Linked DNA regions of Homo sapiens: all the other regions are linked to region 3. The links are contacts of gene promoters, found by promoter capture Hi-C in blood cells and fetal thymus (Javierre and others, 2016). All regions are on one chromosome and are shown on one strand. The core of a region is centred on a gene start or on the middle of the fragment in contact, and the rest is flanking DNA. Distances in the headings are between cores, read along the strand shown.

What was found. The method cuts DNA at HindIII sites, captures the fragments that hold promoters and counts their contacts. A CHiCAGO score of 5 or more calls a contact.
Region 1: a contact is called between a fragment that was not itself captured here and the fragment with the promoter of CDC20 in region 3, in 1 of 17 cell types (total B cells). The highest score is 5.3, in total B cells.
Region 2: a fragment that was not itself captured here is called in contact with the fragment with the promoter of CDC20 in region 3 in 1 of 17 cell types (neutrophils); the score reaches 6.7 in neutrophils.

The regions. Positions count from the first base shown.
Region 1 is chr1:42,911,721-42,914,788 of GRCh38, forward strand. No RefSeq gene overlaps it. Among named protein-coding and RNA genes, the nearest start is that of SLC2A1, 46 kb to the right of the region's middle. The HindIII fragment of the contact is 160 bases long and covers 1,258-1,417 here.
Region 2 is chr1:42,930,051-42,932,550 of GRCh38, forward strand. It overlaps SLC2A1 (solute carrier family 2 member 1), which reads right to left. Exons shown (of 10, transcript NM_006516.4): 3 at 996-1,156; 4 at 576-816. Among named protein-coding and RNA genes, the nearest start is that of SLC2A1, 28 kb to the right of the region's middle. RefSeq lists an enhancer at 2,089-2,258. The HindIII fragment of the contact is 5,614 bases long and covers 1-2,500 here.
Region 3 is chr1:43,357,323-43,360,249 of GRCh38, forward strand. It overlaps CDC20 (cell division cycle 20), which reads left to right and starts at 1,659. Exons shown (of 11, transcript NM_001255.3): 1 at 1,659-1,684; 2 at 1,845-2,074; 3 at 2,168-2,316; 4 at 2,403-2,499; 5 at 2,647-2,775; 6 at 2,871-2,927. The coding sequence starts at 1,894. CDC20-DT (CDC20 divergent transcript) reads right to left here and starts at 1,351. Exons shown (of 4, transcript NR_183650.1): 1 at 1,228-1,351; 2 at 720-786; 3 at 481-578. RefSeq lists enhancers at 428-936, 1,048-1,107, 1,447-1,955 and silencers at 1,398-1,507, 1,698-1,847. The HindIII fragment of the contact is 10,275 bases long and covers 1,129-2,927 here.

The DNA.
Region 1 (3,068 bases), core at 88-2,587, 450 kb before region 3:
ATTTTGTTCAGTGACATTAGGAGCAACCAACCAATGGCATTATATTCCTTGGTTTTCCAAAAACGTTTGAAAGTATCATATACAGAGTTACTTAGGTTTTTACTTCTTATATTTGGTAAACTAGGAGCATCTAATGCATATCTTTATAAATAGTTCATGCAATAGACTACTATAGAGTCCTTAGCATCTTGAAATCTAAGATGATTGAAGAGCCAATTCCATAAGCCCCAAAACCAATTCAGCAAACTCATCCTTAAAATTCTGTTGCTCTAGAACCACTCTCAGTATCGAAATCTGCATTAGTCAGGGTTCTCGAAAAAACCAGAACCAATAAGATATTTATACAGATATTAAGGGCAGATATATTATAAGAATTGGTTCAAGTGATTGTAGAGGCCAAGAAGTCCGTCCCATGATATACTGCCTGCACACTGGAGAAACAGGAAATATGGTAGTGAAATTCAGTGTGAATTTGAAAGCCTGAGAAACAGGGGAGCCAATGATATAACTCCCAATCCAAGGCTGGGGGCCTGAGACCCAGGTGGCTGCTGCTCTGACTCCTGAAGTCTGAAGGCCTAAGAATCAGGAGCTCCAATGTCCAAAGGAAGGAAATGGATGTCCCAGCTAAAGAGAGAGAGAGAGAATTCCCCCCTCCTCTACCTTTTTATTCCATTCAGATGGGCCCTCAATGAGTTGGATAAGACCTGCTAACACTAGGGTGGGTGAATCATTTTTACTCAGTACGCTGACCCAAATGCTAATCTCTGGGAATACTCTAAAAACATACCCAGAAATAATGTTTTACTAGCCATTTGGGTCTTCCTTAACCCAGTCAAGTTGACACATAAAATTAACCATTATACCATTCAAAGCCTGCCAGACACATCCTCTGACCCAGGTGCCCAGCTTGGGGGTGGAAGAGATCCAGTATAGGAAGTAGGTATTTTGAGAGCACATTCAAGGCAGACTTAGGAAACAAAATCCCAAAGGCAGCCAAAAGAATACTAATTTGAATCCTCCAAAAAGGTTATCTTCAAACTGGGTATTCATACCTGTGGATGTCCAAAAAAATTTCCAAGGAATATGTGAACATATTTAGCTTTAAGGGAATCGATGTCCAAATCCCGATCTTTACTTTCTGCATGTACTCTTTTCAAAAACTAATCTTCCTGAGAGGAGTAACATCAGTAATACAGCATAATAGGACATCTCAGACCTTGTTCCTCCATAGACACTGACTTAATATATGGTCCAAAAAGCTTTTATGAGAATTCTAGAAACTAGTGCCTGAGGCAAGTTCAAAGTCAAGAACAGCTATATTAAAATGGGTAAGAAGAAACATTTTCATTTAACCTACAATAGCCCTTTCCCAAAGCCAGTACAGCTTGGTGCTTTCAGGAGTAAATGCCCAACTTGAAGCTTCTACCTTGAGAGTGAAACAGAAGAGTAGAATGTGCGTCCAACATTCAGGCTTTTCAGGGGGCTCCCTGAGGGACCGGTTTCTGTCTTGCCTGACACTGAGTGCTGATAAAGTTAAAAAAAAAATTATATATATATATATATATACACACACGTATATATATACATATATGTGTATATGTATATGTGTATATATACACATATATACACATATATACATATATACACATATATATACATATATACACATATATATACACATATATACACATACACACACACACACACACACACACATATATATATATACATACATACATACACATCCCCTGGGGACTGCTGAGAACAAGAGACATCAACAGCTTGTTGTAGACCCTGAGAACTTGCAGTACTGTAGACAGACACCAGAGAGAGCAAGAGACCACAAGCTTCTGAAAAGACACCAGCAAACCTCTCGAATTGGGAAATCACAGGCACAAGCCCAAGAATACGTATCTCCAGAAAAGGTTTGAGAGACCACTCCCCCAAACTGTTAGTTGAGCTGAATGTTTAAGGTTTTCCCCTTTATGAAGCCAATCCATTAAAACTGGAAGACATGGTCATTTTTTCAAATCCACAAACTCTTGCAAAAAATAACAAGACATATGATGATAGTGGGAAACATGGTCCAGAGGACCAACTATGTATCAGAAATGGAACCCTAAAGAAACAGAGATCTATGAATTACCTGACAACGAATTCAAAATAATCATCTTAAAGAGGCTCAGTGGGCTACAAGAGAATCAGATACACAAATGAAACCAGGAAGTGACCCATAAAAACCAGAATACCAACAAAGACGCAGAGGCCGGGTGCAGTGGCTCAGGCCTGAAATTCCAGCACTCTGGGAGGCTGAGGCAGGAGGATTACATGAGCCCAGGTGTTTGAGACCAGCCTGGGCAATAGAGTGAGACCCTGTCTCTAAAAAGAAAAAAAAGAATCTGTTAAGAAAAAGACCAAATGGAAATTCTGGAGTTGAAAAAAACAATAACTGAATTGAACAATTCACTAGAAGGGATCATAACAGATCTAATTGAGCAGAAGAAACAATCAGGAAATTTGAGACAGGTTATTTGAAATTACTGAGTCAGGGGAAACAAAAGAAAAGATGAAGAAAAGTTAAGAAAGCCTAAGGGACTTATGGGATACAATATATGATCCAAAGAAGCCATCCCTGAGACACATAATAAACTGTCAAAAGTCAAAGAGAGACTCTGAAGGCAGCAAGAGTAAAGTGACTCATCAAGCACAAGGGAGCTCTTATAAAATTATCAGCAGATTTCTCAGCAGAAACCTTACAGGACAGAAGGGAGTGGGATGATATATTCAGAGCACTGAAAGAAAACCTGCCAAGCAAGAATAGTATTCAGGAAAACTGTCCTTCAGAAACGAAGGACAGAAATTTGGTTTCCGGTCCAGCATGTAAGGAGCTTAGAAGGTAACACTCCATCTAAACAGGTTAAAAGGCTGAGCAACAATAACAAAACCAAACAAAAGCTGAACAACTCTTCTTAGATTTGTTAGAGGAATGAGACCACTAGGCAGATTGCTGCCGCCAAAATTGGAGAGACAGGAAATACAGGCAGTCACAAGTTACTGGAAATGCAACA
Region 2 (2,500 bases), core at 1-2,500, 430 kb before region 3:
GCCGTGAGCGCCTCTGCCCTGACCCCCTTTCCCACCCCGTCCTGCCAGAGTGGCCTTCCCTACTTTGTGTCAGCTGCTGCTTCAGGGAAGGGCCCCAGTTCTAGAGGCTCTGCCACTAGCATGAGCCCTGTTTCTCAGTTTCCTCATCGGTCACATGGGAAAAGTAGGACCTACCCCACAGTGTTGCTGGGAGGACAAATGACAAGGCCACAGATGTGTCCAGCACAGAGAATGGGGGCTGCTACTCTGCCACAAGAGGGTTTTGGGGACAGGGAAGGGGAAGCCTCCTGGAGAGAGGGTACTGTGCATAACAGCCTGCGGCATGTTGGGGGAAGGCGGGCCCTGTGGTTGGAAGCCTAGAGTGAGAAGAAAGGGACTGAGAAGAGTCAAGTCATCTTGCTGTCAACTGGGAGGCCATGGTGCTGTGTTCTCTGGACCTGTGTACCATAGTTGTCCTCTGCAAGGCTGTGGGGGCTGGGCGGAAGAGAAACTCTGCCCTGCTGGGCACAGATCCGAGAGCCACTGAAGCTGTGGGCAGGGGCCGTGCCAGGCAGGTAGATCCTGCCCCAGCTTACCTGGGCGATGAGGATGCCGACGACGATGCCCAGCTGGTGCAGGGTGCCCAGGGCCCCACGAAGGGCTGTGGGTGACACTTCACCCACATACATGGGCACGAAGCCTGTGGTCAGGCCGCAGTACACACCGATGATGAAGCGGCCCAGGATCAGCATCTCAAAGGACTTGCCCAGTTTCGAGAAGCCCATGAGCACGGCGGACACGAAGGCCAGCAGGTTCATCATCAGCATTGAATTCCGCCTGGGGACGGGGTCACAGGTCAGGCCAGTGCCCACATTCCTTGGGCTCCGAGGGGCTGGGTCAGAGGTAATACCCTGGAACAGGCAGATAAGTCTCCCCTACCTCCCACCCCATCTGGGACTCCCTGGGCAGGAGGGCATGGGCCCTCCAAGGGCAGTGCCAGGACCTCTCCTACTTACCGGCCAAAGCGGTTAACGAAAAGGCCCACAGAGAAGGAGCCAATCATGCCCCCAACAGAAAAGATGGCCACTGAGAGGGACCAGAGCGTGGTGAGCGTGGTGGGCAGGATGCTCTCCCCATAGCGGTGGACCCATGTCTGGTTGTAGAACTCCTCGATCACCTGCAGGGGGAGATGCAGCCTGGGTGAGCAAGCCAGGGGCCAGGACCCAGTCTTCCTTTTCCTTTCCCCTTGCACCCCTCCCTAAGAGAGGGCCAGGGCCTGGCTCTGCCACAGATTCACTGCATGTTCTTGAGCCAAGTCCCTCTATTTTTGTGGGCCTCACTTTCCCCAGGCGAGAAACAAGGGGTTGGAGTTCATCTGAGAGCCCCGCCAACTCTCCCACTTCCCCTAACGTGTGGTTTCCAGTGCCCTGTGGTTTCACAGGCTCAGTGTGACTTGCTGGGATGATGGCAAGTGATCAGTGGTGGAAGTTCAGGCATAGAACAGAGAGGTACAAGACCAGGTGTGGTGGCTCACGCCTGTAATCCCAGCACTTTGGGAGATCAAGGCAAGCAGATCACTGGAGATCAGGAGTTCGAGACCAGCCAGACCAACATGGTGAAACCCTATCTCTACTAAAAATAAAAAAAAAATTAGCTGGACGTGGTGGCGCAAGCATGTAATCCCAGCTACACGGGAGGCTAAGGCAGAATTGCTTAAACCCAGGACACGGAGTTTGCAGTGAGCCAAGACTGTGCCACTGCACTTCAGCCTGAGTGACAGAGTGAGACTCTATGTCTCAAAAAAAAAAAAAAAAAAAGAGAAATACAGAAGGAAAAGGGTCTTCCCACTTGCCCCTTTTCTCCTCACCATGTCTCAAAGCCCCAGGGGCCCATCTCCTGCCATCAGGCCCTCCCCCCAACCCCTTGCTGGGGAGGAAGCAGGGCTTGACAGACAGGTTCCGCCATCCAGGAAGTACAGACTCCCTGACCGCACTGAGGGCCTGGTGTGACAAACTCACACATGTCACCCTTCAGAAGTGCTTGAAAGACTCACGCTGTGGCTTTCTGTTCCCCAGGCCTAGCTCCCTTGTGTCTGGCCTGCGAGCACCCCCTTGAAGGACCCACGGCCTCCTCCCCTCTCCCAAGGGCCCAGCTAGGAGGTATGGGGAAAGGTTCCACACAAGGAAGCAGTTCCAGGAACTGGAAACGCCCGTCCTAGGGCAGCCCTGCCCACCAGCCCTGCCCCCACCCTGGCCAGCTCCCACGGATGTGGTAGGCAGGCAGCACCCGTTCTGCCTGAGCACACTCACCACACTCTCAGTGCCATGGGACTGGCCAGACCCACCCAGCCACACGTATAGCAGAGTGCAGGCCCTAGTTACCCAGAAACGGCTTCTTATGCACGTATACCATCACACACACATACCCGTGCTCATAGAATCTAAATATTCCTGCTTTAGCCAGTCACAAACTCACATGCCCCTCATCCCCTACCACTTACAGCTCAAACTCAATTCCATGT
Region 3 (2,927 bases), core at 409-2,908:
TCAAGTCAAAGATAATAACATTATCTGTAAGCATCGGAGTGGACTTTAAGCTAATGACTGAAAATGATTTTTCCAGCCTCTTTCTGGGACAGTATAGCGTATTGTTTAGATTGCAGGGATTAGTCAGATAGTTTGAATCCTGGGCTCCCCTACTTATTATTGGCTGCATGCCTTTGGGCAAGTTTCTAATCTTTCTGACCCAGTTTCTTTTTTCTGTAAAGGGAAGATGGGGTATCTATCTGCCTTATGGGATTAAGGATTGAACTCGATAATGTATGTAAACTTTTTTTTTTTTTTTCAGACAGAGTATCGCTCTGTTGCCCAGGCTGGAGTGCAGTGGCTCGATCTCGGCTCACTGCAAGCTCCGCCTCCCGGGTTCACGCCATTCTCCTGCCTCAGCCTCTCGAGTAGCTGGAACTACAGGCGCCCGCCACCAAGCCCGGCTAATTTTTTGTATTTTTAGTAAAGACGGGGTTTCACCGTGTTAGCCAGGATGGTCTCGATCTTCTGACTTCGTGATCTGCCCGCCTCGGCCTCCCAAAGTGCTGGGATTACAAGCGTGAGCCACCGCGCATGGCCTGTAAATTGTTTTAACACAGTAGTTAGATGGTCCATAAATGGTACCATTATTACTTTTATGATTGCTGCTCCACCTCTGAGCACATTCATACAATTCACTCAAGTCATTATTAGAGCACTAGATTGAGTGCGAGTCAGACCTGGATTCCCACAAACTTCTTTGTATGACCTCGGGCACATCCCTTCCCTGGGCCTCCGTTTCTCCATCTGTAAAATATGGATTTGTTGTCGGGGTGGGGAGGCTGCACCACGCACAGGTTAGACTAATGGATCTCTAAGGTCCTCACATCTTTAAAGCCCCAAGGGGATAAGCCACAGTGCCTCCTGTAGGGCAGTCTAAGCTTATCTTCCAGATAGGCAGGTTTGAATACCGATCCTTTTTCTTGACCTTAAGGAATTCATTCACCCTTTTCAACCTCATTTTCCCTGTTTGTAAAACAACAGCAAACGAGACAAACACACGTTACTTCCTTTCTAGCAGGGTTCCTACCCGGCGCCAAGCAAAAGTGGAATGTACCCTAAGTAGCTCTGGCCTTCTTCCTGCTCCCAAGCTTCCCAATTCCGTCCCCTGCCCCGCTGCCGCCCGCGGCTCTCCTTCCCCTTCTAGGAACGGCTCAAGCGCCTTGGGCACTCCATCGGGTTCTGCACCGAGTTCTGCATCATAAATACGACTCTCGTGTAGGATTTAAGTGTGAACTTCTGCAGGTTCTCGGACCCTGAAGCACCCGGGGCCAGACATTCCGAGCTCGCGGCGGTGGAAGGCACGCAAAAGGGCGAACCGAGACGACTCCAGGACGCTGAGGCAGCGCAGGCCCCACCCGGCCCCGCCCTGCCCCGCCCTGTCCCGGCCGGCTTTCCAGTACTAGTCCTCTGGCGCCGGCTCCCAGCCCCTCTCGTACCCTTCAAATCGCGCTCCGCCGCTAGACTCTCGTGATAGCTGAGACTTTCCCCGGAAGGCCCGCCCCCTTCGCCGGAGAGGCCAATGGGCTAGGGCAACGGTTGCGACGGTTGGATTTTGAAGGAGCCAATAGGCGCTCGGAGCGGAGAGTTTAAGAGGCGTAAGCCAGGCGTGTTAAAGCCGGTCGGAACTGCTCCGGAGGGCACGGTGAGAGGTGGTGGGGCTGAGCCGAGGTGGGGCCGTGGCCAGGGGGAGGGGGTGCTAGGCCGGAAGGGGCTGCAGCCGAGGGTGGCCCTGATTTTGTGGCCGGCCAGGAGCGAAGGGGTCCCTTTCTGTCCCCTGAGCACCGTCGCCTCCTTTCCTCCAGGGCTCCGTAGGCACCAACTGCAAGGACCCCTCCCCCTGCGGGCGCTCCCATGGCACAGTTCGCGTTCGAGAGTGACCTGCACTCGCTGCTTCAGCTGGATGCACCCATCCCCAATGCACCCCCTGCGCGCTGGCAGCGCAAAGCCAAGGAAGCCGCAGGCCCGGCCCCCTCACCCATGCGGGCCGCCAACCGATCCCACAGCGCCGGCAGGACTCCGGGCCGAACTCCTGGTCAGTGAGGTGCCAAAGGAACTGAGTGAGAGCAGCCTTCATACTTTCTCCCTGGGGAGCCTGGTCAGACTGTCTTCTCTTTCTCCGCCCCAGGCAAATCCAGTTCCAAGGTTCAGACCACTCCTAGCAAACCTGGCGGTGACCGCTATATCCCCCATCGCAGTGCTGCCCAGATGGAGGTGGCCAGCTTCCTCCTGAGCAAGGAGAACCAGCCTGAAAACAGCCAGACGCCCACCAAGAAGGTATGTGTCCCAGAGGGGCTTAAGGCACGGGACCTGACTGTTCTTTGGATAATACCATCTTGCTCCTTCACTACCCTTTATGCCAGGAACATCAGAAAGCCTGGGCTTTGAACCTGAACGGTTTTGATGTAGAGGAAGCCAAGATCCTTCGGCTCAGTGGAAAACCACAAAATGCGCCAGAGGGTAAGACCCGAAGTTCCTGGTTCCTGGAGGGAGGTGTCAGTTCATCTCCAGGGCTGAGCACAGATATCTGTCTCCTCTTCCTATCTAAGATTGAGGGCAAGGGAGGTGTTGATTTTCCCAGCGTCTAGACTCACTCCGTTGCCACAGGTTATCAGAACAGACTGAAAGTACTCTACAGCCAAAAGGCCACTCCTGGCTCCAGCCGGAAGACCTGCCGTTACATTCCTTCCCTGCCAGACCGTATCCTGGATGCGCCTGAAATCCGAAATGACTATTGTAAGTGCATCCTTATCCTCGCCTCATGCATGGAGAAAGAGGGCCTGGGACCACACAAACAAGGAAGCTCATGCTCTTCTCTCCACCTCTGACAGACCTGAACCTTGTGGATTGGAGTTCTGGGAATGTACTGGCCGTGGCACTGGACAACA